7 separate regions of the Homo sapiens genome follow, and all the other regions are linked to region 1. The links are contacts of gene promoters, found by promoter capture Hi-C in blood cells and fetal thymus (Javierre and others, 2016). All regions are on one chromosome and are shown on one strand. The core of a region is centred on a gene start or on the middle of the fragment in contact, and the rest is flanking DNA. Distances in the headings are between cores, read along the strand shown.

The links. Contacts are between HindIII fragments. The CHiCAGO score rates a contact against its expected background, and 5 or more counts as called.
Region 2: a contact is called between the fragment with the promoter of KRT15 here and the fragment with the promoter of KRT28 in region 1, in 3 of 17 cell types (M2 macrophages, M1 macrophages and M0 macrophages). The highest score is 7.5, in M2 macrophages.
Region 3: the fragment with the promoter of KRT35 here is called in contact with the fragment with the promoter of KRT28 in region 1 in 6 of 17 cell types (M2 macrophages, M0 macrophages, M1 macrophages and 3 more); the score reaches 11.2 in M2 macrophages.
Region 4: a fragment that was not itself captured here is called in contact with the fragment with the promoter of KRT28 in region 1 in 2 of 17 cell types (M1 macrophages and M2 macrophages); the score reaches 5.9 in M1 macrophages.
Region 5: a contact is called between a fragment that was not itself captured here and the fragment with the promoter of KRT28 in region 1, in 1 of 17 cell types (neutrophils). The highest score is 5.6, in neutrophils.
Region 6: the fragment with the promoter of KRT34 here is called in contact with the fragment with the promoter of KRT28 in region 1 in 6 of 17 cell types (M0 macrophages, M2 macrophages, M1 macrophages and 3 more); the score reaches 9.4 in M0 macrophages.
Region 7: a contact is called between a fragment that was not itself captured here and the fragment with the promoter of KRT28 in region 1, in 3 of 17 cell types (M2 macrophages, megakaryocytes and erythroblasts). The highest score is 5.2, in M2 macrophages.

The regions. Positions count from the first base shown.
Region 1 is chr17:40,798,243-40,802,211 of GRCh38, forward strand. KRT28 (keratin 28) reads right to left here and starts at 1,717. Exons shown (of 8, transcript NM_181535.3): 1 at 1,202-1,717; 2 at 675-757; 3 at 1-149. The coding sequence starts at 1,651. LOC105371776 (a long non-coding RNA gene) reads left to right here and starts at 3,092. Exons shown (of 4, transcript XR_934753.2): 1 at 3,092-3,322. RefSeq lists an enhancer at 1-895. The HindIII fragment of the contact is 3,919 bases long and covers 1-3,899 here.
Region 2 is chr17:41,517,280-41,521,248 of GRCh38, forward strand. KRT15 (keratin 15) reads right to left here and starts at 1,611. Exons shown (of 8, transcript NM_002275.4): 1 at 1,051-1,611. The coding sequence starts at 1,548. RefSeq lists enhancers at 1-246, 1,951-2,950. The HindIII fragment of the contact is 23,808 bases long and covers 1-3,969 here.
Region 3 is chr17:41,479,316-41,483,284 of GRCh38, forward strand. KRT35 (keratin 35) reads right to left here and starts at 1,836. Exons shown (of 7, transcript NM_002280.6): 1 at 1,312-1,836; 2 at 384-466; 3 at 32-188. The coding sequence starts at 1,782. The HindIII fragment of the contact is 10,492 bases long and covers 1,667-3,969 here.
Region 4 is chr17:41,459,848-41,463,816 of GRCh38, forward strand. It overlaps KRT32 (keratin 32), which reads right to left. Exons shown (of 7, transcript NM_002278.3): 6 at 2,983-3,203; 7 at 1-392. The coding sequence ends at 263. Among named protein-coding and RNA genes, the nearest start is that of KRT32, 5.6 kb to the right of the region's middle. RefSeq lists an enhancer at 1-345. The HindIII fragment of the contact is 8,593 bases long and covers 1-3,969 here.
Region 5 is chr17:41,440,138-41,444,106 of GRCh38, forward strand. KRT38 (keratin 38) reads right to left here and starts at 846. Exons shown (of 7, transcript NM_006771.4): 1 at 293-846; 2 at 24-106. The coding sequence starts at 784. RefSeq lists an enhancer at 502-1,002. The HindIII fragment of the contact is 1,658 bases long and covers 1,070-2,727 here.
Region 6 is chr17:41,380,289-41,384,257 of GRCh38, forward strand. It overlaps KRT34 (keratin 34), which reads right to left and starts at 2,018. Exons shown (of 7, transcript NM_001386014.1): 1 at 1,611-2,018; 2 at 1,425-1,507; 3 at 768-924. The coding sequence starts at 1,958. RefSeq lists an enhancer at 1,011-2,210. The HindIII fragment of the contact is 8,651 bases long and covers 1-3,969 here.
Region 7 is chr17:41,350,540-41,354,508 of GRCh38, forward strand. It overlaps LOC105371778 (a long non-coding RNA gene), which reads left to right and starts at 958. Exons shown (of 2, transcript XR_001753056.1): 1 at 958-1,064; 2 at 1,883-3,259. It overlaps KRT33A (keratin 33A), which reads right to left and starts at 289. Exons shown (of 7, transcript NM_004138.4): 1 at 1-289. The coding sequence starts at 228. The HindIII fragment of the contact is 650 bases long and covers 1,800-2,449 here.

The DNA of each region.
Region 1 (3,969 bases), core at 467-2,966:
GGTTCTTTTTGAGATATGTCATCTCCTCACTCAGAGACTCATATTGCAGCTCCTGGTCGGTCCTGCAGAGCGTCAGCTCGTCCAGGACTCGCCGTAATCCGTTGATGTCGGCCTCTACGTTTTGGTGAAGGGTGAGCTCATTTTCATACCTTGGGGGGCATTTAAGTGAATTTCAGTGCCAGTAAGACTACCCCAAGAAACAGAAATATTCAATCCCAATTGCTTTAAACTGAAAATTAGAAATTGAATTAGGACTGTAAATAGTATAAAAATATATGAAGAAAGCGCTCCTGCATTACCCCCACTCAATTCTGTACAGGATAATTGGAAGTTATTTCATCACACAAATTCCAATAGCATAACCTAGTTAAATAAAAATACACCATTTTGGAATTTTATTTTAGTTAACGTTTTTCCTTAGTTGACTAATGATTTACTGAGCATCTACTTTGTGCTTGGCAGTATTCTAGGCAGGCAGAGAAATATATTGATATTTTGTCCCAGGAATATAATAACTATGTATAAGTTGATTGTAACATTATAATACAAATCCTTTGCTTCCTTTTATCTTTTAGGTGATAGTTCATTCTACTTGGGATGAAATAGAAATTTTATTTAACAAATTAAATAAATAGAAACTTTTTTCTAGAGCAGGATTTTCTTCTGTCACTTACTTTAGCCTGAAATCATCAGCAGCCAGTCTGGCATTATCAATCTGCAGAATGACATTAGCATTAGTAGTAGTGGAGGAGATAATCTAGAATAAACCAAAACAGAGAACACAACAAGTAAGTATGCTTTTATGTGATTCATTATTTCAGGAAATGAAAAAGGTTACTCAAGTTTTTGCATAAAAATTTCACCTCCTTATGTAATAATCAAAATGTTTCAAGTTTAACTTTTAAAAATTAAAGACATGGTTTTATTTATTCTCATATATTCCCCTAAATTTAGAACTACAATACTTTTTTATTCATATGCCTATGAATGTACTTCAACATAAACAATGGAACTAATAACATTTTAACTACATTAAAATTCATGAATCAAAGGGCCCATTTTTGAATAGTAGGAAGAATTGTTTATCTAAATAAATAAATACAAGTTATAACAGTCATGAAGCATTTCTTATTGTATGTCTTTTGTTAGGTATTTCTTAGTTTTAAATACTTGGGTTAGTTCCAAATCTGTGATTTCTCACCTTATTCTTAAGATCCTCAATTGTTAGGTGATATCTGCTATAGTCATGATCAAGTCCACGGCAAGATCCAGGTCCGTATTTTTCATACCAACCCTTGATTTTTCTCTCTAATTCAGCATTTGCCTCCTCCAGAGCTCGCACATTATCCAGGTAGGATGCCAAGCGGTCATTAAGATTTTGCATGGTCACCTTCTCATTTCCAGAGAGGAGTCCCCCTTCGCTTCCAGCAAAGCCAATACAAGCAGCATTTCCAAGGGCACCACCAGCATGGCTCCCACCAGGAACACTGCCCAAGCCCCCTCCCAAGGCACAGGAAAATTCACTTCCAGCAACAGAGCCACCACATGCACTGCTGCCTGCAAAGCCTGCACCTCCATTGAGGGGTCTGACAGATCCAGCTCCAGACCTTAAGCAAACATGCCTGGATCCATTAGAAAATTGGAGAGACATGGTGTTTTGAGAAATGTTCACCTTGTCTATGCAAAACTGTAATGTCCCAAGAGAACAGAATATCATGCACTGATAATTTCTTTGGGTTTTTATATATCATTATTGGGGCGTTCCTATTTGAGTTATACATGCCAAAAGCAAAATGGCATCACTTAGATTAGCATAAAATTATGTATAATTGGGTGATTTTAAAAATAATTAATGTCTAACATCCCTCGGTGTTGCTTTGGGCTATTTCTTATCTTAAATATAATAGGGTTTGTTCTATATTAAGTTTATTAATTTAACTTCTAATTTTGAGTGAGTAATCCTTTCCTTTCATCTAGACCCTAGGCATATACTGTCATTATCTGGCGCCAGGTATTATCAAATTTTTTATAAAGTTAAGTAAGATTATGATAGAGTTCTGTGAGGTACAGTAGGGTCTCAATTACCATGGAGGGGTATAAAGGACTGCTAATTACAGAAACAGATATTTTATCCCACCAGAAAAAAATGTGTTATTTAGAAAACAGAGGCTAGTGACATCTCTGTTCTTACCATGATTATAACATCTATTTATTATCTTGGACAATGACACAAATATTGACCTATTATTTTGTTTAAAATAGCATGGTTATGATGTTTGGTGCTCTATGCTAAGTGCTAAAATGAAAGACATAGTGTTAACTAAATGCAGAAGTGAAAAATGCGTGATTACAATCTTTAAGAAATCTATTGTCAGGTCCAGACAGGGGCTGGATCATGGTTAGCTTTCTGTGCTGGTCTAAAGAGTTTGTAATGAATCCTAAGTAAAAAGCAGAGGGCAAAATGATCAGGTTGAAATGAAACAAGGTGGTCAATTACAAGGTTGGAATAATGGTCCAGGTGAGAAGGATGAAGGCAGTGGGGATGCAGAGAAGATGGCTTTGAGAGCATATGGTAATATGATTGAATTTGGAGAGTAGGGAATAAGGCAGAATTGGGGATAACTCTTAGGTAATTAATTTTAGATTCTGGGAACTCATAATATTCACTGAGATGGGGAATAGAGGAGGAGGAAGACACTGAGTTTAGGTTTGGACCAACTGGATTTGAGGGGTTGCCAGAATGTTCCAGATGAAGGTGACTGATAGCAAGAATGACTGTTTAGAATATGTATACTGAACTGGAAAAATACTTGACTAGCAATGAGTAAAAGAAAATTGGAGGGTCCAGCTCTCATTTATAATGATGTTCAACTGCATATTTGGAAGTAATCCTGGTGCAGGAATAGAAAGGATGATGATCAGATTGATGTGGGTTTTGGGATTTGAAGACAGGTCCAGAAGAAGGAAATAGTGGCAAAGAAATTTCTGGTGTTCTTGAGAAAACAATTGAGGCGATTGACTGTATGATCATATAGCAAGAAGAAAGTAAAACCAGAGGGACAGATGGACTGAAGAAAAGGGCAGAGGGTGAGTCATTGGGTATCCTTATGAGGTCATGGAGCAGGCGGAGTGTGAGGAGGAGATTGATAAAGGTGAAGGATGACAGGCTAAAATTGGATAGTGGAAACCAGAATTTAGAATTTTAAAGTAGGCACAACTCCAGGTGTCACCAAAGTCCACAGAGTAGTCATGGGAGTGGACCAACAGTCACTGGAACAAGAAGTCAGAAGTGGATTGGACCTGAAAGGCAAGAGAGTAGGAGGTCAGGAACTATCTGTCTGTGACATTAAATGTACCATCTATAAAGGCGTGAAGTTTCTCATGATGGCAGGAGACAGGAGGGAAGTGGGCTGTGAGCCATTGTCAAGGTTTTTGGATGATGAGGCAGAGGGGAGTGTATGTGGTGAGGGGCCATTGGATGGCATTTGCCTCAAAAGAGGAGTCTTAGCATAAGAATTAAGTGGCACAAAGCTAGATGTGGCATTGGGGATCTAGAGAACACAGACTCTGCCTTGAAGTCCTTATGTTAGGTGTGTGGAAGTGGGAGCAGAAGAGGAGATGGAAGTGAAGAAGGAGGATGGAGAGGAGATGACAAGAAAAGATGTGGGAGAAAATGAGAGGAAAAGATGTGGGAGAAAATGAGAGGAAAGGGGAGAGAGATGGGAATGGAGATCGAGGATGAAGGATAAGTTTCTGATAGAAAAAGTTGTTAGGACAATTCAGCAGAAAGTGGTTAATGCTATTAAAGAATCATTTCAGTTGAACTATTTTGCAGAGAGGTCTGCAGAAAAGGTTCATGTAATTGTCAAAGTGTGGGTAAAAAGAGTTTCCACCTCATAAGCTTGTTGAAAAACTAAATGAGATCATGCTTAGTGCGGTGCCTGGCAAATGGAAAACTGTCAATGAATG
Region 2 (3,969 bases), core at 361-2,860, 720 kb after region 1:
CTGACACCACCAACAAAAATCTGTACGGCTTCTGGGGTGGGCAAAGTCCAGCCTCACTTTCAGTGTCCATTTCTTGTTTTGTCCCATCCAGCCTCCTTGAGACACCTGAGGAGCTGCCTTCCTTATCTCCAGGGCACGAAAGACCAAGGAGGCAGTATTGCCTGTGGGAATTGGTTGCCCAGGAGAGTGGGGCAGTGGGGTGCAGCCAGCTCTGACAATAGCTCTCTCAGAGACACTCCACCAGCCCCACTGTGGACAACTCATGGTCACTGCCTCCTGCACACCTTGGACACAGCCATGGATCTACAGAACATTCCAGCCAGTAGCAACCTGGAGGGCAGTTAAGAAGGCATTTTACGAATGAGGAACCCAGTCTTAGGGAGTAAAATGGTGAGTGAGTGGGTGGCAGAATGTGTAATGAGTTCCCAGGTCTCCTAAGACCCAACAGTACTTTTGGCACAAAAGACCTCTTTATAGGAAAAGACAAGAGGTTCTAGCATCTGGAACTCATGAGGCCACACTCCAATCCCATTCTTGCAAAAGAGGTAAAGGAATACTTTATGCAGAAGCCTGCAGGGTGCATGAGGTAGGGAGGGCGAGTTGCTCTTTTTTTTTAATTATTTTTATTTAATTAGATACAGGTTCCACTCTGTCACCTAGGCCGGAGTGCAGTGGCACAGTCATAGCTCACTGCAGCCTCTAAATCCTGGACACGAGCAATCCTATCACCTTGGCCCCCCAAAGCACTGGGATTACAGGTGTGAGCTACTGCCTCTGGCTCTTTATAATTGCCCCCACCTGTGCCCCTGTTGGTCCTAACCAGATTCCCAAGACCCCTCTCTCCCTCCCCCAGCACCACCAAGTTGAGAAGATGTGCACTGGCCTCTGCACCTGGACAGCAGGTGCATTCCAAATTTGCTGAGATTACATACCAGACAGTCATTGCCTGGGCAGGAAAGGATTTCCTTGAGTCAGCAGTAACACTGACATTAGAGCTGTGTACAGGGTACCAGCCACCTGCTCCCCTCTCTTTGACATCCGAGGACTCACCTTGTCCCGGAGCTCTTCAATGGTCTTGAAGTATTGGCTGTAGTCGCATTCTGGGCTGGTTGGGGTCTGCTTCTGGTACCAGTCATGGATCTTCACCTCCAGGTCAGCATTGGCCTCCTCCAGGGCACGTACCTTGTCCAGGTAGGAGGCCAGGCGGTCATTGAGGTTCTGCATGGTAATTTTCTCATTGCCAGAGAGGAGACCACCATCGCCACCACCAAAGCCACCACCAAAACCCCCACCAACGCCCCCTCCAAAGCCTCCACCGAAAACACTACCAGCCCCTCCACCAAAGCCACAGACCCTCATGCCACCCCCATATCCTCCTCCTGACCCTGAAGAGACAAACCTAGCAGAAGAAGCTGAGATACTTCGGCTTCCACCTCCCCCAGAGAGACTCCCCCCACCAAAGCCACCTCCCCCAGCCAGGAGGGAACCCCCTCGGGTTGAGCCACCCCCAAAGGTGGAGGAAGAAGTTTGCAGAAATGTGGTGGTCATGGCCAGGTAGCTGGAGCCCGTGAGTTCTCAGCAAACCCAAGAGATGCTGGCAGGAGGTACCAGGCCAGGCTGCACGCTGGGGCTCCTTATATACCCTTCAGAGGGTGTTGTGGGACCTCGTCTCCTCCCCTAAAGCAAAGCCAACTCCTTCTGCCTTCCTGACAAACACAGCTGCCTGCACACCTTGAGTGGGTCATGTGAAGTTTTTCTCTTCTATTTTTTTTTAATGCAACAAAAGAGATGATTCAGAATTAATAGTGTTTTTCCCCAGGGCACGGTTTTAACACTTGGATTACAGGTTCATCTCTCCATGCCAGAAGAGAGCAGCAGGGAGCGAACTCTCATCACAGCACAGCTACCAAGGCCTCTGCCTGTACTGAGAGCAGCTCAGGCCAACTGTGCCCTCAGCTGGACTTCACTTCCCCGAGCCCTGAGCCTCTCCCCAAGAGGACAGCTCCGTGTTCTTAGTTTGGGAGTCCACTGGCCGATCATTATGCTGTGTTATCCAACTCAAAACCCTGTGAGTGAGTGAGTGAGTGAATGAGTGAGTGAGTGAGTGAGTGAGAGACTGCAGGGCTCAGGGAGAGTGGAGGCCCTGGGGATGGGAATGCAGGGCCCCTGGGGGCAGGTGGAGGACAGGAGCCAGGGACCTTGAGTAGTGTTCCAGCTGAGGTGACCAGAGGAGCCAGCATCCATCCCCTTACCTGGTGCTGCAGATGGACTCCCCTCCTCCCACCTCTACTCCCCTCCTGCCATCCTCCAGCCTGTGTTCCTGGCACCCTCACAAAAGCCCAGCAGGCTTGGGACTGACAAGGGGATGACTGATGATCCCGACACCTGCCAACTGCACGGCGCTGAACCTTTGCTCGTTTCTGGGATGTGTTGGGGCAAACCTCCGCTGATAAGGCTGGGGCAAGTTCCAGGAAGCCCCTGCCTTCTCCAGGAGAGGCATGTCGCTGCTTAGCAGGGCCAGATTAGCCCCCATCTGTCCTGTCAAGTGCTGGCTGGGGACGGGCCGCTGCAGAAGGCTCTATGTGCCTGAATGCTGTGGAAGGGAAGAGAAGGGAGACTGGCAGGCAGGCTGGAAGACACCGGAGATCTTGAAGACCAAGGCATTGCTTCACACAGACGGGGAGTTGAACACTCAGGAGAGCCCTTTTCTCTGCCACCAGCTCAGGGACACCTTTCCAGGGACACCTGATACCTGTGGGCAGTGCCACTTGGAGGTGTGGCTCAGCCCTCTGGACCTGGCCCCAGGGCTTACAGAAACTCAGGAGGAGGATTCCTAGCCCAGGTTGCAGCATGGTGAAGTGGACAGGGCTCTGGAGTCCCTCAGGCCCGGGTTTGAATCCTGGCTTTATCAATTATCATGGTAAGACTGTGAGGCCTGGGTTCAAATCCTGACCCTACCAATTACCATGGTAAGACTGTGGACATTTACCTTTTTAAGTCTCTGTTTCCCTGTGGCAAGGGGCGCTCTCAACTCTCACTTCCAGGGAAGCCCTGTGGCCCAAGAGCCCCCATCCTGCCCCCTCCTGGATCCCCACCCAGGTGCCAGACATGCAGGGGCCAGGGTGCATGACCGGCACCTGCGCCTGAGTGCCCTCACCAGGAGGGGCTTTGTCGTTGGGCATCAGAACATGCCCTGTGAGCCTGAGCATGTTCTTAGGCTCAACGGCATCGACCTTCCATAGCCAGCTCCTATGGGGCAACGCAGGTTGTTCTTAGGTTCTTATTTTGCTATAATAGCATAATCCTTTACTTCTACCCTGCACTTTGTGATTTACAAAGCACTTTTGCATCCATCACCTCCTCTCATCCTCACAACAGAGGGTGACCCCCACCCAAGATTCAGAAAGAATGAAATTGAAACTTGGAGAGGTGAAGCAACTTGTGCCAGGTGGCACCACTGGTAAGGGGCAAAGCCAGGACTCAAACAGGTCCTCACACCCTCAACCAAACAGGGCACAGGGAAAGAGTCCTTCCTGCAGACCCCAAATTCCTGCATCTGAGCTGGGCTGGCAAGGGGAACTGCCAGCCAGCAAGGCTGGGGGTGGGTTCCTTCTCATCCATCTTCGCAGTGAGCCTGGCCTCCAATGCTGGGCACAGACAGTGTGGTATTGTCTCATGGGTGGGAGGGTATTGTCTTTTCCTCCGAAAGAAAAATAATCAAACTCAGATCATCCAGAGCTCATTAAAAGCCTCTGCAGACATTGTGGCCCCAGCAATTAACTCAAGAACAATTACTCGCCTTTCACCCCAGGGTGAGGAAGGGCTGGACCCCAGCCAGATCCCCTTCTGCACCTGACTCTCCTCCAGCAGCCCCTCGAGGTGGCTTTCTCTATACTCTCAGGCCCAGGCCAGGGGCGGCAGCTGCCCCCCTCACTGCCCCACGCACAAATCCCTGGTTTCAGTCCAAAC
Region 3 (3,969 bases), core at 586-3,085, 680 kb after region 1:
GTGCCGTGTTCACCTTTTCCCCCATGCTCACCTCCTCATGGTTCTTCTTCAGGCAGAGCAGCTCCTCCTTCAGGGACTCCACCTGGGCCTCCAGGTCAGACTTGCACAGGGTCAGGTCATCCAGGATCCTGCGCAGGCCGTTGATGTCTGACTCCACCAGCTGCCGCAGGGACACCTCCGTCTCATACCTGCAGGCATAGAACAGGGCACCTGAGTCTGCATTTCCTTTTTGCATCTAAGTCAGGCCTGCCCTCAGACTGTCCAGGTGCTGTGAGTCCTGCTTTTATGCCCCAATGACAGAGTACAGCCAAAACCCTGAGCTCAGGCATCACCTGTGTCCAGTTCTAGCAGCCCCCAACCACATGACAAGCAGGACAACTCACTTGGTCCTGAAGTCATCTGCAGCCAATTTGGCATTGTCAATCTCCACCACCAGCCTGGCATTCTCAGCCTTGCTGCATAGAGTCTGGAGATATGAAGAAGTTATTTCATTGCAAGAAAGGACATTCCACTTGTTGGAGCTCCCTAAAGCTGACAAGGGCTGACTCTGGAAGGAGGAAGTCACCCATCCTAGACCTCTGCTACTCCATGTGCATTGGAGTGTTATGGGCAGGCTCTAGGGATCAACTATGGAAAGTCCAGGGTTTCTTCCAGTGCAGTGTATCTGTGACCTGTTACTCAGGTTAGATAGCTGCATGAAAATGCAACAGGAAAGGCCTGGCATGATGAAATGAGGCTTCTTCCAATCTCCCTGTCTCCCAGGCCTACTGGGGGCCCAGGGCATTTCATTGCCAACAACATACCCCGGGATTCTCTGGTCATAAATGGTCCCTCACAGGAGCCAGCTATAACTTTGGGCCAGGCGAGAAGTGGATATGGGCCCTTGGCAAGAAAGAAACTTCTCTGACAGGCATTTTCTTCCCTGAGTTACTTATGGGAAGCCTGAACTGCACTGCACTAAATACATCAAACCCAATCCCCTGACTTTAAATAAAAGAGGAAATGAAAACTCAGAAGACTCAGAGGATTGGGCAATACCACCAAAGGTCACAGAGTTCATTCATAGACCTGATGTTCAAGCTCTGGCTCCAGTAACTGCCATCTGGGTCGCTTACCCAGCCTGAATCTCAGTGTTCTCAACTGTATAATGGGCTAATGATACCTCCCTCTTAAGGTTATTGGGAGGAGCAAATGAGGCCACAGAGATGAACATGCTTGGTGACTTCCAACATGCCCTATGGGAACAGAACTACCAATGAATGCTGGTGACACAAAGTTCCTGGGAATCCAAAGCCACTCTGAACCTCTTACCTTCTTCTGGAGCTCCTCGATGGTCCGGAAGTAGGACTGGTAGTCAGGGCACATGTAGGGGACCTGCTGCTCACACCACTCACGGATGCGGCTCTCCAGGCTGGCGTTCTCCTGCTCCAGCTGACGCACCTTCTCCAGGTAGCCGGCCAGGCGGTCGTTCAGGGATTGCATGGTCTCCTTCTCATTGCCAGTGAGGATGCCCTCCCCAAACCAGCCCCCACCCCCACTGTAGCTGGTAGCGAAGCCTCCAGCAGGGAGGCAGAGAGCAGGGAGGCAGCTGGTGGCCCTGTAGCTGCTTCTGCCCAGACCCACTGAGCAGGCAGAGAAACTTCTGGCCACAGGGGAGAGACTTGGAAGCTTGCAAGAGCTGCTGGAGTACATTGCGGACACACGAGTGGAGCCCCCACTGGCCCCTCCTGGGCTCTTGAGAGACCCAGAAGAGAAGCCGGCCTTGAGGCATTTGGAAGCCATGGCCCCTGCAACTCAGATGCAATTGATAGGTCTCTGAGGCCAGACACCCCAAAGCAGAGAAGCAGCTCCTTACCCCAGATTTATATCTCTGCCCCAGTGGGCATTGGTTGGCCTTTACAAAGTGTTTTCTCCTCATTAAAGTTAACACCACTTTCTATTAAAACCCCTCATTAACCTGTTATTTAGTTTCCTGTGAAAATTTACCAGTCTCATAAAATAGGAGCCCCATTACTATGTCAAGACTCATCTCCACCACCCCACATCACTGGGAAGACCAAGTCCCTGTCAGTTCTTCAAAGGGACCTGTCATTTGAGCCCAGACCTCAGCCTCCGCATTAAGCAAGCATGGGAGTTCAGCCACTGTCTTGACTTTCTCCAACTTTGACTTCTTTTATTGGCCTGAGGGAGTAGAGGAGGTCTCTGGGGTGCTCCCAGAAGATGGAAGGGTAAACTTGGTTGGTGCAGGAAGGCAGGGGTCTTGCAGCCAGGGAGACACAGAAGGCTCTTGAATTGGCCCAGAAAATATGGCTAAGGTGACCAATTTTCTTGGTTTCCCCAGGAATTTTCTGGCTTTAGTTCCGAAAGTTCCATATGCCAGGGAAACCTCAGTCCTCGGTAAAATGGGACAGCTTATCACCCTAGATACTGCAGAGCCCTGATGGACACTTCCCTACTCTTTCCCTTGCCAGGAAGTCTGTGCAGGTTGTAGAGCCTAAGTTCTAGCCACAATGCCTAGAGATCAGTTAATTGGACACCTGCCCATGATGACATCTAGGAGGGCATGTCTTCCCCAGCCCTGGTTGAGAAATGGAGAAGCCCTTCCTTCTGGCTGCCTGAATTGGAGCTCTTTTCACACAGCCCTATCAATAACCCGGCTGATGGTAGCAACCATCATTCACTGAGCATTTAGTACCCACCAGCCCCCACGCTGATCTGTCTCTATGCATTCTCTTATTCAGTCCTCACACAAACTCATGAGATTGGCATCACCAATAGCCCATTAAATAGAGGAGGCTTGGACTGTTTCAGGAGCCTGTCCCAGATCACAGCTGAAAAAGCATCTGTACAACTGTTCAAGGCATGCTATCTTCTTTAAGGCCTCACACACACCCTCCAACACAGTCGTGGATAGAAAGGTGCTGACTCCTACAGAAGGAGACAATGGTCAGAGTAGAAAATGGCTTACCCAAGGTCCACACAGGCTTCCCAGGGAGGCTAAAGCCCAGGCCTTGCAGCTCCAAACCACAGGCCCACCCCACTGCCTCTAAGGGCCCAGTCCTGGCCAGGCCTTCCCCCGAAGTCTGGCCCCTGCTCCAGCCCTGCTGTGCCCTCCCAGCTCTGAATGCCCAAGGCAGTGACTATTGGTAGATTTCTTGGCCTCCAATTAACTGACGTCTTCTGATTGTCTTGTGTTTCAGCCCTATTTTCCCAGGGAGACTGTAAGCATGGGGGCAAGGATTGACCTTGTACTTTTTTTTTAAATCTCTGTAGTGTTAAGCACAGTGCAGGGCTTCTAGATGTCTATGAATTAATTAATTAATTAAGTGATTTTTCCCACGGTGAATTGTGTTAAGAAAGGAAAGAAAGAATGGGAGGAAACAAAAGAGAGTAGGGAGCGGGGAAAGGAAAACACAGTCAATCTTAACTATTCCTACTTCTTTTTTTTTTTTTTTTGAGATGGAGTCTCACTCTGTTGCCCAGGCTGGAGTGCAGTGGTGCGATCTCAGCTCACTGCAAGCCCCACCTCCAGCGTTCACGCCATTCTCCTGCCTCAGCCTCCTGAGTAGCTGGGACTATAGGTGCCCGCCACCACACCCAGCTAATTTTTCTTTTTTTTTTTTTTTTTGTATTTTTAGTAGAGACGGGGTTTCACCGTGTTAGCCAGGATGGTCTCGATCTCCTGACCTCGTGATCTGCCTGCCTCAGCCTCCCAAAGTGCTGGGATTACAGGCATGAGCCACCACACCCAGCCTACTATTCCTACTTTTGTAAATGAGGAAACTGAGACTCAGAGATGGAAGGGGATCCGGCATCTCTGTGTAGGTGAGCAGCACCTGTCCAGACTAACCAGCCCCTTTGGCCAAGAACAAAGTGTTTTCTGGGCCAAAAGCCATTCTGCCCAAGGGAGATGGATCTCATAAACCAATTTAGTGCTAAAGTTGTGACTAAAAAATTCTTGATAAGATT
Region 4 (3,969 bases), core at 986-3,485, 660 kb after region 1:
AACTAAGAACACACGCTCTTTGAGGCAGCACAGACAACCAGAAACATCACCAAAGAGAACAGTTCACCCATGGAAAAAAGAGGCAGTTTTGAAGTGATGAGGGCTTAAGTATCCCCTGGAGTATCAGAGCTTGTTGCAGGTGATCCACGGTCCTGCTCAGGGTCTTCCTTGCTGACCGGGGCTGGCCCTGCTCTTCTGGTGGCCACTGAATACCAGGCTGCCCAGCCCCAGGCCCTCCAGGATCCACTGGCACAAAGGGACTTCAGTAGCGGCCCTGGGGGCAGGGTGAGCAAGGCATGCCAACAGTGCGTGGCACACAGACGGTGCGGGGCACGCATGGGGAGGGCACACAGGTGGTGCAGGAAGGAGTGGAGCATGGGTTACAGGGCAGCCTGCAGGAGAAAGTCAAAGAGAAACAGGATTAGTAGAGAAGGCCCACTCGGCCACAGGTCCTGCCAATTCTCCCCTCGGATGCCTCTCAACCCCATCTTCCGTGCTTTCTCTGCCCAGCCTCCCTGGTCCCAACCTCCGCCATCTTTGCCTGAGTCACCTCATGGCCTCCTAACTGATCTCCCCAACCCCACTTGGGCCCCTCCTAACCACTGTCCACTTAGTAGCCAGAGCAATCTTCTACAGTCACAAATCCAATTATGTCCCTCCCCTCCCTAAAACCTTCAGTGGCTTCCATTTGAGCTCAGGATGAAAAGCAGCTTCCTCTGGAAGCCATCATTCTCAGCAAACTAACACAGGAACAGAAAACCAAACACTGCATGTTCTCACTCATAAGTGAGAGTTGAACAATGAGAACACATGGACACAGGGAGGGGAACATCATATACTGGGGCCTGTCGAGAGGTGAGGGGAGCAGGGAGGGAGAAAATTAAAACAAATATCTAATGCATGCAGGGCTTAAAACCTAGATGACGGGTTGATAGGCAACAAACCACCACCATGGCACATGTACACCTATGTAACAAACCTGCACGTTCTGCACATGTATCCCAGAAGTTAAAGTAAAATAAAATAAAATAAAGAAAAGCAGCTTCCTTAATAGGACCTGCATGATCCTGCTCCCACCTCTTGCCCCAGCCTCACCTGATAGCTCCATTGCTCTGGGAGCTGCAGGTACTCTGACCTTCTTCCAGCTCCTGCAGGGACTGTACTGCTCAGGCCACAGGGCTTGTGCCCTGTGCCGTACATCTCTGGAACCCTCTTCCCTCTCCACTCACCTACATTTCTTCTCTTGTTTAAGAGCTCAACTCAACTCTCACGTCCTCCTTGAAGCCTCCCCCACCTCTCTGAGACAAAGCCCCCATGGTACATGTATCTCCTTTCATCGTGAGTAGTAATCATTCTATTATGGTCTGTCTCCCCGGCCAAGCAGTGAGGCCAGCAGCCACAGACCCATGCCCACCCTGCATACCTCACATAGAATAGGCACCTAATAAGAATATTTGGATCAGACAAAACAATAAATGAATGAAGAATTAATACATGGTGAAAGGAAAAAGGATGATCTCAGAGACTGACAGGCATGCACTCAAAACCAGGAACAACACACTGGATGCTGGATGGAAACCCAGTAGCTCAGAGAACCAATGGGAGGCCTGAGGATCATGTGCAACCTGAAATGTGTTCCATTTGCCTGGCACTATATATTTTCTTTAATTTTTTGAAAATACTTAAGAATCAGGAGAATTTAACATTTTTAAAAACCCAGATTCTCAGCTTCCCTGGAACTATTGGAAGATCAGCAATATTGGACCTGCTTCTCACACAGTAGAAGTGGCCCTGAGGGCATGCCATTGCCTGGATTGGACAAGGCAAGAGCTTTCTGCTTTTCTACCATCTCCGTATGACCCACGTCATTCATGCATGTTAATGGCCTGGTCCTTGCAAATGTTTGACACAACACTTGCCCTGAAGTTATAGATTCTGAATGATGGAGAAGCAATGCCAAATGCGGAATAAGAAACAGCTACAACAGTCGTCAGCCCACTGGGTGTCCATGGCCCAGAGGTACCCTGCATTCAGACAGCCACCAAGTCCTGCTGATTCTACCTGCACAGTGTCTAGAGCTGATGCCTCTGCTGCCCTAACTCAGGCCCTCCCTATTGCTTACCTAGGCTGTGGCCAGGGCCTCCTGGACAGTTTCCCTGCCTGGTTCCCCTCCCTCTACTCAGTTCTTCCTGCTGCTATCAGGGCCATCTTCCTGAAGAACAGCTTTGAGCTTGAGAGACATTTACTGAGCATCTACTATGTGCCACGTACAGGGAATAAAATTGTATTATAATGTCTCTGCATTCTAGATGTTTACCATCTAGTGGAGAAGACACACAGTAAATTCTCTCATTTCCTCCTCAAAACAATTTCCACTCACCTATAAATTAAAGCCCTCCCTTCCCAGTATGACCCGTGTTGTTCTCCATAAATGGGCCCCGGCTGATCTTTCCTGTCCTGCTCCCCACCAGGGCTCAATTACACAAGGCTACCTATTGTCCTGCTGACATGCCAAAATCTCCGTTCTGAGAGGAATGGAGCTATGAGGTGAGGCTGGGGTAAGAGGTGGGAGCAGGATTGTGTAGGTACTATTAATAAAGCTGCTTTTCATCCTAAGCTCTGGACAGGCCATGACCTCCAGTCACCTGTCTGCCTATCTCCCTAAACATATGGAAATGACAGGAGGGCAAATGCCCTGTCTTCCTCTATCTTGGTGTCCTCCATAGCACCTGCCCCATGGTGGGCACTTAGAAGGAGCTTGCCAGCTTGGAATGAGATAGAATGGTCTCCGAGGGGCTTGGTTCAGGATGGCAGCATGAACACCACTGCCTGACTTCCTTCAGAGCATACCAGCTTCTTAATGGCTCCATAGTCAGGACAGGGTTCTAAGCTGATGGTCCCTCAAGGGTAGATCCAGTTGCTTCCTATAACCTCCCAGAATCCCTGCCCACGTCTCTCTAAGCCTCAGCTGGGCCTGCGTACTTGCAGTCCTCGTTCTCCAGCAGGCTCCGGTACGTGTTGATCTCGCCCTCCAGCCGGGCCCGGACGTCCAGCAGCACCTGGTACTCCTGGTTCTGCCGCTCCAGGTCAGCCCGGATCTCAGCCAGCTGGGCCTCAACGTTGGTGATCATGCACTGCATCTGGGCCAGCTGGGAGCTGTAGCGGGCCTCACTCTCCGTCAGCGTGTTTTCCAGGGAGTCCCTCTAAGGCAAAGGAAGACATAACCATGAGGAAGGGAGCTGTTTACCATGGCCTGCTTCAGAAAGAACCAAGAAGAGCCAAATCTCCCTTTGATGCTGGAAATGAGCCCTCCCTACACCAGTCACTTTGGAAACGGAAGCCCAGAAAGGTCAAATGACTTGTTCAAGGGTAAACAGCTGGTACATTATGGAACCACAGTTTCTGTTCGTAAATCTGATCCTAAATCCCTCCTTTCTTCTGCAACCTTTGTCTGCCTTCAGGATTGGATCTGAGATTTCCCAAGTACCTCCCTGCCGGCATCATTTAGAACAGGGGTTTTCAAACCTGGCTGCACATTAGCGCCACATGGGAGCCCTCAAAAAATACCCATGGCTGGCCGGTCACAGTAGCTCATGCCTGTAATCCCAGCACTCTGGGAGGCCAAGGCAGGTGGATCACCTGAGGTCAGGAGTTCGAGACCAGCCTGGCCAACATGGTGAAACCCCCACTCTACTAAAAATACAAACATTAGCAGGGCATAGTGGTGCACACCTGTAATCCCAGCTACTTGGGAGGCTGAGGCAGGAAAATCACTTGAACCCAGCGGGGGCAGAGGTTGCAGGGAGCTGAGATCATGCCACTGCTCTCCAGCCTGGGCAACAGAGTGAGACTCCATCTCAAAAAAAAAAAAATAGCTGTGATCAGGTCCCACCTCCAGAGACTCTGGTTCAGTTGGTCCAGAAAAGAACCTGGGCATCAGGATGGGTGATATTGAGATCCATAGGTTTG
Region 5 (3,969 bases), core at 649-3,148, 640 kb after region 1:
TGGCCCTCCTCCGCCTGACTTACTTGATCCTAAAGTCATCGGCAGCCAGCTTGGCATTGTCAATTTGTACAATCAGCCTGGCATTCTCGGCCTTGCTGCACAGGATCTGAGGAGAACAGGAAGACAGTTCACACACAAAGCATCATGCCCTAGGCTCCTTCTCCACGTGTGGTGTCTATGATCATGTCCAAGAGAAACCAAGAACCCAAAGTTCTCTGAGCTTTACATGGATTCCTCCTGTCTTGCCTCTGCCATCTCAGACCCAGCACACCCAAGCGATCCCACACCTCACCTTCTGTTGGAGCTCCTCGATGGTGTGGAAGTAAGACTGGTAGTCGGGGCACACGGTGGACTCGTGGCACTTGCTCCTCTCGAGGAGTGTGGCCTCCAGCTCCGCATTCTCCTGCTCCAGCTGGCGCACCTTCTCCAGGTAGTTGGCCAGGCGGTCATTCAGGAACTGCATGGTCTCCTTCTCATGGCCATTCAGGGTGTTTTCACCATAGGCCCCACAGATTCCAATGTTGCCAGGAATGTGGCAGGTCCCTGGCAAGGGACAAGCAGTGTGGCAGGTAGGCGGCAGACAGAGGCTGGGGCGGCCCAGGGGAGTGGACCCCACACGGACTCGGTTGGCATGTGCCACGTTGGCCAAAAGGCACATGGGGGCAATGTTGGCCTCTGCCCCAGGCTGGCACCCAATGTCGATGGGAGAGACAGAGACATTTCTTGCTCCAGGAGCCATGGTGCAACCCAGAGGGCATGAGGAGCTGCTGTAGGAAGAGGTCATGGTGTTGGGCTGAGGCTGCACAGGAGCTTCAGATCAGCTGGGAAAGCTGAACCACTGAGACTGAAGCCTCCTCTCCTCCCAGCCCTTTTATACCCCATCCTGGGCGGGTGTTGGCTCCAATGCTTTGACCTCCTGCCTTGATTATCTACCTGTTGTGGTGCCATCATCCTGTTACTCAGCTGCTGAGTTTACCATGAAAAGTTTCTCAGCTCGTTAAAGGAATGTTGACGAATCTGAGGCCTCTTGGCTCTTTGAAATCAGGTTGGCTGTTGATGGGAGGTCAGAAGCTTTTTATTATCTTTCAAAGAAGCAAAGTTATAGCCATCAGATGCTTAGACCTTGACTGGGTTTGGCCTCTTTATGGATGTGTCCACTCTGGAGACACAAACTTTCCTGTTGGTCAGTGGTGTAGCAGGAGGACTAACCCCGGTGATGACAATGGTTCTCACTTGGGTTAAGACTCAACCAGCCTTCCCTATCCAGGGAAGAAACTGAGTCTTGGAATTGGTGGATGTTATGGCCTTGGGTTATCAAGAAGTCCTACATTTCTTCTTTCTTTAGTTGGTTGCCTTTCAGACTCACTTTGAGGAGCAACAAGACTTAGATGAATCCAGTCACTCAAAACACATCCCCTGGCTACGTCCCATATGCTACGCACCTTGCTGATGCTTGATATATAGTTGGTTAAGCACAAAATAGTTCCTGCCATTGGGGAACAACTGTAACTTGGGTAGACGTGATGTTTCAAACAAGGTATCTGAGAAGCTCATGAAAATGAGGATGACTCCAAAAACCATGGCTTATCTCGACCAAGAAGGGCAAGCTCAAGAAGCCAGAAATAAACAAAGAGAAATGAGCAATAATCTTACTGAACCTCAAATAAGAACTTGGTCATGAAAGTCAAAGGACATTGAGTGATCAGAGCCTCTGTGGGCTCTCTTCATACCTTGCTTCCTTTATTCTAAAGTCAGTCATGAGCCTTCACCCTATGAGCTAGGGGATTGAGCAATGATACCTTTTAATCTTTACTTCCAACCTGGGAGGTGGGTACTCTTAATTTTACAAAATAAATAAACAAGCCATTGAGGACAGTTTTCTAAGATCAACCTCACTATAAAGTATAAAGCCTATTCTCAACATCAGCTTCTTTCAACTCCAGAAACTGTTTCTTCACCTTGACCACCTCCAAATCCTCCACCCCAAGGATAACTACTGTGTCATTGCTAGAACTAAGAAGGATTCAAATTCCTAGAAACCGGGCAAGAAGTTGAAATTAAGATGTAAAACAAAAATCTGACATTGTGTATTTTTCCCTTTGTATCTCAGAAAATACAGATGTGGAGGTATTCATACAATAAAACAGAGTTTCTCCAAGGGCTAAATCAGAAGATGCCAGGGGAAAGTCCTGTCCCTAAAATGGTTATATTACACATTCCACATTCAGATAGTTCTTGGTACTAGGGATCCAAGACACATGGCTGCTGAGATCCCAAAACTTTTCTCCCAAAATTTGTGACAGAAGATACATAGACCCCTGAGACTAAGAAAAACCTAATGTGGAACAATCCAAAGTGATTATAACTAGAATTTTGGGAAAATGAGTTTTTGCCAGTCCCCTGAGCATTGAACAAAAGCTGAACATACACCTCTATAGGGATCAGACGTGCATATGTGAAACACAGGCTATTGGAGTTCTATCAAGAAGAAATACAGAATCTGAGAATTCAGTCCAGATTGGGCTTCTCAGGAAAGTAAGTAGTAGTGAGCGCTGACCTAAGGGTTATTCAGAGCTCACCAATCCATAACCCTTTACAGACAACATCATTGGGAGACATCACCAGGGCAGGCTGTCCCATCCTCCAGAGGCCACTGGGTGCAATCTGCATATGTTACATCTTCAAACACCCTTTTGTTACTCTCCTCCGCCTCATCACATAGCAACAAGCTTCTCTATAAATCAGAGAGCCAGGCTTTTAAAGTCATTTCCTTTGATTTGCTAAGTAGCACCCATCTTTTGGCTTTATCCTCTGCCCAGATTCATTCCATGGACTAAAAGCCACGATTTCGTCCATTCACAATACATGACTCATCACTGCTGAAGCCTTGTGTGTCCAGATGACACCCCTCTCTGCCAACTGGCTTGGGTCCTGGCTTGGGCTTCTACCTTGTACTGTTTTGCATAATGATACTGATGTTGCATGGCTCTTTGTAAAATCGCTTTGTTCCCCTGATTTGTATTTTCTCAAAGGAGGTGAAGGAGCGGGTGGGGATCCTAAGACTCTCTTCCTTCCCAACCCTTTAAAAAGAGTCCCTGTGGCCCCTGGTGACCGAATATGAGGCCAGGTTCAGTAACAAGAAGTGATGAATACAGAGTGTGAGAGATGGGAGCCTGCTGCCCTCCTTCATTCACCTGTGTGCACAACATTCTCTGTGTGGATTCTGACTTTAGACATGCCGATCTCTAGAGGCATGAAGTCTACTGCAAATGGAGGTGAGGAGCTGTGGTCTTGGAATGCCATTTTCACTAATTTTGATACATAGGGGCATATCTCAACCAATGGGAGAGAAAGGTATGGAGCTGTAGGCTAGCACCTGGAGATTGTGCCTAACTCAAAGTTTATCTTTTCTGTGTCATGGCTCCTACTGCTGGAAGATGCAGGGAGGCATCTAGGGAGTTGTGCCCTGTGTGGGAACGTCACCCATCACACATTGCAGTGAATGCAAAGATTTATGACAAGTACTATATGTAGAGTTAGTGCTGCCACATCTCCAGGGTGTTAGAAAATGGTGTCCCAAACAATCCTAGATCAAGAAACCATGAAGACTCTTGAGAGAAGAGGCTGAGCATATAAATGTATTATTCTAGGTATCCAACTCCTGAGGCTTTGATGAATGGAAAAGGTACACTTCTGTTCAAATTAAATATGATTTTATCTATATATGAATGTATGCTCATTTGTGATTAAGAAATACAAACTAAAGAGATATTGTTTTCTTATCAGGTTTTGCTAAGTTGGATAATAGCACACAGTGTTGGCATGAGTGTGGGAAACAAGTCCTATCCTCTCCTGTGGATGACAGTCACGAGCTTCCACCTCTGCACATAGGCACAGAAACCGGGGCCCGTGCGTTGGGACCTGTGAGCCTCACACCTGCCTCTGATGGCATCATTTGCTGCTCCAGGC
Region 6 (3,969 bases), core at 768-3,267, 580 kb after region 1:
TCATTCCCAAAGAGTGACACACACATTTTATAGCAATAAACTCCAACAGGGATCACGTCAATTGTTGTCCCATAGAAACGGAAACAACCTCACACCTTCTACAAGACTAAGTCTAAACTCCTTGGCATATGCAAGTCCTTCCTCGCTTCCCATCACATCTTCACTTTCATCCCTTGGAGGTACTGCATGCCCAGCCATACCCAGATACACCCTGCCCTGCCACTTCTGTGTCTTTGTTCAACCTCTTCCCTCAGACTGAAACACCCAAGTACTGGAATCCTCCTCTTTGCATCTGAGAAGAGTTCCCTATCTCCTCTTGGGCAGCCTGGATTATTTCTAGAGCATACTGCTTGTACATCTCATATGGTACTTGTTTCACTCTGTCTTGTTTATATCACTGTGTTTATATGACTGTCTTTCTATACTAGACTGTGAGCTCTTTTAAGAAAAGGGCCATGTCTTATTTCTTTTTTGTCCCTCCATCTCCACCACCAAATTCAGGACCTAGCAGTGATCAGCAGAGAGCAGGGCTCAATGAATGATGTCCCTCCTCAGTAATTCCAACACCTGCCTAACCCTCACCCAGCCGCTGAAGAATGAGCAGCTCACTCCACTCCTTGATATGGATGTAGCACCGTCACTCTCTGAGAACATCTTGAGTTCCTCAGAGAAGGGTCCCAGACCAGGGATCCAGACAGTAATCCTCTCCTGATTCCCAGTGCTAGTAGCTTAGTTCTGAGGCCTGCTTTTGTGAATTTGTTTCATACCTCCTCATGGTTCTTCTTCAAGCAGATCAGCTCCTCCCTCAGGGACTCCACCTGGGACTCCAGGTCAGACTTGCAGAGGGTCAGCTCATCCAGGATCCTGCGTATGCTGTTGATGTCCGACTCCACCAACAGCCTCAGGGACTGCTCCGTCTGGTACCTGCACGTGTCGGAGTGGGAGGATAAGTCAGGAAAGAAAACCACCTTCCCCTCTCATGTGTTGTTTGGGTAGAATTGGCCTGAATCTTCTTGAACTTACAGTTTTCTGCCTCTTCTCTTCCATATGCTTCAGTCAAGCTGTCCATGGATAGGCTGAAGAGGTTCCCTGACTCACCTAACACCACGAGGAGCCCACAGGCACACATGAGATGAAGTCTCTCACTGTGTTCTCGGTTTTGTTAGCTAATATACCACCAAATCAATTCCCAAAGAACAATTCATTTCAATCTCTGAATTTTGTGGTTTAAGAAACACTTCCAAAAAAAACCAGTATAGACCAAAGAGCAGGCAGCACATGAGTCTAGTTCCCTATTTGAAACTAATTTTACATAACCAGCCCTAGGAGGAGAAATAGAGAGAAATGGCTTTCTCCTCTCTTCCAGGCAATAGTAGGTCCCTAGGGCCATGAAAGAACCATAGGGACCTTGAAGTTCAACATACTTGCTTCTGAAGTCGTCAGAGGCCAGCTTGGCATTGTCAATGTTCACCACCAGCCTGGCATTCTCAGCCTTGGCACACAGAATCTGAAAAGAAATTTCTCTCATGAGGTACACTTGAACTTGAAAATGTCTTACTGTTCAAAGAGAGCCAGCTGCTGCTGGCCCCCCATATGGCCAACCCCCTCACCTTCTGCTGGAGCTCCTCAATGGTCTTGAAGTAGGACTGGTAGCTGGGGCACAGCAAGGGCTCCTGCTGCTGGGACCGCTCCTGGATGAGTTTCTCCAGCTCCGCGTTGTCCCGCTCCAGCTGACGCACCTTCTCCAGGTAGCTGGCCAGGCGGTCGTTCAGGAACTGCATAGTCTCCTTCTCGCTGCCATTGAAGGAGCCCTCACAGAACCAGTTGCAGTTGCTCACATTGGCGGGGATGTTGCAGGCCCCAGGCAGGGTGTAGCCGTGGCAGCTGGGGGGCACGCAGGGCCGGGAGGAGCAGCTGGTGCGGCAGCCCAGGCTGGGCAGGCAACAACTGTAAGACATGGTGCTGGAACAGGTAATGGAAAAGCAGGTAAGCTGCTGGAGGTGGATGTGGGCAGGTTTGAGTCTCTCCTTCCTCTGCAGTCCTTTTATACCATTAATTGTGGGTGGGGGCTTGGCATACAGCATAGTTTCCTTTCCTAATGCTTCAGCTAATTTTTCTCCAAAATATGCTAGTTAGATGCTTCTAAAGAGTCCCCCCTCAACCCATAAAATTATTCCATTCAGCTTATGTCACACCAGGCTCTTCCTGGGTGCTAGTGGTTGGTGAAATCAGAGTTTCATCAGATGGCTTCATAGGAGATAGAATCATCACAGCCCCAAAAGGCTGTCTGCATTACTCAGAGGGGAGGACAGCCAGGGACATGGGGTGGAGTTGTTTGGGAATCAGGGATTCCTCACCCAGGAGTTTCCGCCACTGTTCTTTCTCCCCAGAGAGAGAGCTCTGAGAGAGAGCTTTGAGAGTTACTCTTCCAAGTAGCTCTTTCCTCCCACATTCATCCATGTTTCAGCATTCAATTTGTTTTTATAGCAGAAACTCAACCTGTATTCGCCGAAATGATCCTGAGCCTTACTATTCGTTGGGGTTTAGGGAACTTGCCAACACATGGAGCAACTGAAAACAATGGCATGTTCATGGTTGAGAAATGAGAAAGTAAAATGGAAACCAATGGAATGGATGGGAGTATACCTAAAAGAGGGCATCTGCAAATGGCAGCCCACACGTCAAGTTTACCCTGCTGAATTTTTGTAAATAAAGTTTTTGTTTGTTTGTTTTCTGTTTTTTTTTTTTTGAGACAGAGTCTCACTCTGTCGCCCAGGCTGGAGTGCAGTGGCACGATCTCGGCTCACTGCAACCTCCACCTCCCGGGTTCAAGCAATTATCTGCCTCAGCCCCCCGAGTAGCTGGGATTACAGGTGCCCGCCACCACACCCGGCTAATTTTTGTGTTTTTAGCAGAAATGGGGTTTCACCATGTTGGCCAGGCTGCTCTTGAACTCCTGAACTCGTGATCCGCCCGCCTCGGCCTCCCAAAGTGCTGGGATTACAGGCGTGAGCCAATGCGTCCGGCAGTAAATAAAGTTTTAATGGAACACAGCCATGCCCATTTGTTTAGCTATTGTATATGGCTGCTTTTGTGCTACAGTGGCAGAGTTGTGTAGTTGTGACAGAGACTATAGTGTCCACAAAGCCCTAAAATTAAAAAATTTGCCAACTTGTACTAAAGCAACAGCCTCTCTAAAGATGAGCAAGAGTAGAAATATCTAGAAGAAAAAATATGCTGGAAACAGTCTGGAGCAGTGAGAGTTCAGATGGCAGCACTGAAGCATGAATATGAAGCATAATACTGCAGACTCACCAAGAAACGAAAATTGGAGCAAGGGTGCTCAGAGGTATCTTTGTATCCATGGTGGCTTTTTCTCAAATTCTCTGGAAATTTCTATCATCTTATTTCTAGACTTGTTCCTCTTTCTAGAGTATTAACTCTCCTAGAGGTATGACTATGCCAGCCTGAGATGCTTCCAGGACAAGCCACAGTGCCCATGAGAATGCAGATTTACTCTGTTGTCCCTACAAGTAGACACTGTCTCTGATAAGTGTGCTTCTATCACCTCTGGGATCCAGTTACCCTTTGACTCTTGCATAACCTAGGGAGCCTCTCTATTGCCCAATAATCACTCTTCACAGAATAGCCTTCCCTACCTCACTTCTTTTCCCTGTCACTCTACCTTGCCTTTGTTCCGCAGGGAAACAAAGTCATGTTTCAGAAAGAAGTCCCAAAAGATTATTTGTGGAACACAATACAAATCATTTAAAGAAGGCTGCATCTGAATTTCAAAAGCAGCATGAGAGGAGCAGAAAAGCACATCTTCGATTTTATTTATTTGAGTGTTTCCTCTTTTTTTCTTAGTCTATCTAGAGGTTTGTAAATTTTCTGTGTCTTTCAAAAAAACTCTGTTTCATTGATTTTTTGCTATTGTTTTTCTAGTCTCTATTTTTATTTATTTCTGCT
Region 7 (3,969 bases), core at 875-3,374, 550 kb after region 1:
CTGACGCACCTTCTCCAGGTAGCTGGCCAGGCGGTCGTTCAGGAACTGCATGGTCTCCTTCTCACTGCCATTGAAGGAGCCCTCACAGAACCAGTTGCAGTTGCTCACATTGGCGGGGATGTTGCAGGCCCCGGGCAGGGTGCAGCCGTGGCAGCTGGGGGGCACACAGGGCCGGGAGGAGCAGCTGGTGCGGCAGCTCAGGCTGGGCAGGCCACAACTGTAAGACATGGTGCAGGGAGGGAGTGTCCAGCTGAAGACAGAGTCCAAAATCTCCAGGTTGTAGAGCGGTGGGTCTCCTTCCTCCAGGGAGCATTTATACCTCGTCCATGGAGGGTGTGGACACGTAAGACAACCCCTTTTTTTTTTTTTTTTTTTTGCTCATTTGGTGATTGTCAAAAGCCCTTCCCTCCATTTGTTGTGTTTCTTCAGAAGAGTCTCTCCCCTCATAAAATACTTTACTTGGGCTTCTCGCTAAGTCGGGACTCCTCTTCCATGCTGTGTGTCATGATGTAAGAGCTTCATGGTGTGACTTCAAAGACCTGGACTCATGAAAGCCCTGGCCTTCTTCAGTGGGGTGCAGCAGGTCAAGAGACAGTATTGCTGTTCTGCTTTGTGGCTTGAGGCCCCTAACTCTTTGGCAAGCTCTGGCTCTCCTTGGTGAAATGGAAAAGCATAGCTCTTGCCCTGTGTCTTTTGCTAGGTCACATTTCCAAGTGCCAAATTCCAAATTCATGGTTCTCAGAAAGAGGAATAGATCCTTTCTGGGACAGTTCCTGATGGCCATGTTTCCTGATATGATGGGCTTTTTTCATGTCCATGATGACGTCAATCAACCAAATAATAGATATCCACTATGACAATTTCATCCAGGGCGATGTAATAGACACTGGGAGGGGTGGAAAATAGGACTCAATGCTATGGTCAGAAGAAGTTCTTACTTGTTAAGAAACTGCACAAGCCCAAGGTAGTGTGGACACTTTTCACAAACTAGATCCTTTTTACAAACATGATCCTCAAACATGCAGAACTTAGATGTCCATTATTCCTCACCAGAACTCTTAAAGGTAAACTGTATAATTCCCATTTTATAGATGAGAACACCAAGGCATAGAGGGTGAGGATAATAAGTTGTGGACCTAGGATTCCAAAGCAGATCACTTTTCTTTTCATCACAACACTTGGCTTAAATATAAATGGCTTACTTCCTTCCCTTCTTCAGACAGGCCGTCCCTTTCTCCTCTCCAAGCTCTCTTTTTACCTTGAGCATGACACTGTCATGACTTATGTGCTTGTCTCTCTGTCTCTATTTGAGGTCCCTGAAGGCAAGGGCAGGGTCTAGTTTGTCTTTGAATCCCCAGCTCTAGGCACCTGGTAGGCACTGTTGAATGGGTGTGGGTAGAGTGATGAAGGGATGAACAGGAAATAATAATCTGAGGCAGAAGTTGACAAGTGATAACTGAGTGGTTTACACACTGGGGAGGGCGAGCAGCTCCAGGATTGGAGGCTCTTAGGAATGGATGAATGGATTTGTGCTGGGATAGGGAGGCTTCTAAGAAGCAGAGGGGAGAAAAGTAGGAAGTGCAGGTGAGGAGAATAATGTGCACACAGGAATGGGGTGGGAAAGCCCAAGGCATGGTTGAAGGACCAGGGTAAGTCTAGGCAGCAGGAAGGGGAGAGTTGTGAAGGGAAGTGCTAGAAATTAAAGCTTTATGGGGGATTGTATGGGGACCCTATGGTAGGGGGTCTCGATGGTGAAGTGGAGCAGCTTGGACTTCCCCAGAAGCTGTAGAGCCAGTATAAGCTTTTGAACCTAAGTGTGGTGTGACAAAAGGTGTTTTAGGAAATGTTTTAGCAAATATTTATCTGTTTTTGAAAAATGAAGGAAAGATTGGAGGCAAAGAGTTCAGCAAAGAGACTATTGCAACAGTCCATGCAAGACTAGAATTTATGGCAGGGATGATGATACAGATAAGGTTTAGTACAAGTGAGAGAGTTAGAGAACTGGGCCAAGGGAGAGTACAAAGAGAAGAGCAACAAGGAGCTGAGGACCAAACTTTGGAGAATTTCCCAATCAGAGATCAGGAGAAGGAAAAAGAATCTGTGATAAATGGAGAAATGGTGAGAAAAAAATGATAAAAACAAGTTCATGGCATCCCAGAAGGGCAGGAAGGAGGGTGCTTCCAAGAGGAGGTGATGTTAGAAGTGCCAAGTGCAGCAAAGGGGCCGCACATGATCAGGACCATGGAGAGGGTATTGGCTGCCTTGACCAGAAATTTACCAGGACCTTTCCAGGGTCACACAGGTATGCCTGCTGTACGCAGCGCCTGTGCACATTCTTAAAGTAATGCCCACAGTGAACTTCGGTAAACCAAGACTTCAAACACACAGAATTGAGATGTTCATTACTTAGAGAAGTTCTGCTGCAATAAATTTATATATCTGATTATTAAGCTTGGAGCTTTGATCTTACCAATACAGACTTTTATACAATAATTGGAGTGGGCTTTACGCAGATGCCAGACTTGTTTGAACTTGATGATTCGTAATAGTTTATTATTTAGGAACAATTATCCAAGAAGCATGAGTAATCTGAACTGACCGTGCATATGACACCACTTCTGTTTTGTCACAAGATGTAAGATGAGCCTTATTTGATATCCTAAAGAGGCAATGAGGAAAAAATTCAAGTATGGGCCTGAGGAGGCATACATTGGCCAGAAAGAGGAGGGGCTTCCTATGTCCTTGCTAGCAGAGGATAAAGCAGACAACAGATTCCAAGCCTCCCAGCTACAGCTACCAATCCAAGCAGCTTCCAAGCCTCCCAGCTACAGCTACAGACCAAAAACCAGATGGCTTTGCATTTGGCTCTTCTCTTCCTCCCTCTTACCTCCTAACATAGATCCTAAATATGAAAATGGTTAAAAGAGAGAGGGAAAATCTTGGAACAAGATATTGGGGATCCTAATGGTCAACTCATCCAAACCGTTCGTTTTACGAAGGGGAAACTGAGGCTCAGAATGGAGAAATGCCTTGCTTAGTATCATCTAGCTAGGACCCAGATCTTCTGATTCCCACTGCATTATCAGCCCAATCACCATTCTACTGAAATGTTGAAGAATTTCACAAACAATCTGATCTGTTATTACCTAAGGACAGAAATCAAGGGCAGTGAGAAAAACATCTTGTTAACCATAGATATGCTGTGTTGAAGAAGAATTATGAGTCAATGTGTAAATAAAGATAGAATTCAGCAATAGTACAGTTTCTTGTTAACTCTCTGATTTCAATTATTTCTAAGTTGATGATACAATTATATACCAACAATTTGGAGTAATTTAAACATAATTATATCCCATCAGATATAGATTATATCCCATCTGTTTGGAGCAACTTAGAACAATTGGTCAAACAATGGTGACCCTACTCGACAGCAATATGCTTATCCAGAGTAAGGTACACAAAAGATAGTCACAACAAAATTAAACTATTATTAAAATGGGGACAATTGAGAGATTAAAGAAAACACACCACAATGACACTGGATGCTATTAAATGACAGGATTATGAATGTTTTTTTTCTTCTCTCCAAATTCTTTGAAAATATATGTTACTTCTGCACAATAAACAAAATAAAATTTACATTTAAAATTTCAGAAGGAAATTCTTGCAAATCTTCTAGAGGAACAATGAGTTATTAAAAAAAAAAAGCCTAGGAGGCTCCTGTTCCAATATAATTACTACATTACACTTGAGCCTGTTCTAGAAATAAAGTCTTTGTTGTGATCGGCATTCATGCCCTTGTGATATCTGCTGACTTTGTCCATTCCAAAGGTGAGCTACTAAGAAGGAATGAAGGGAAATCAAGCTACCTATAGCTCATGAATTGACTGGCATGAGGTCTGAGCTTCGGGTGAAGGAGAAGACAAGGAGGAGTAACCCTTGGAGAAACATTCTGCCATTGACTGCTAG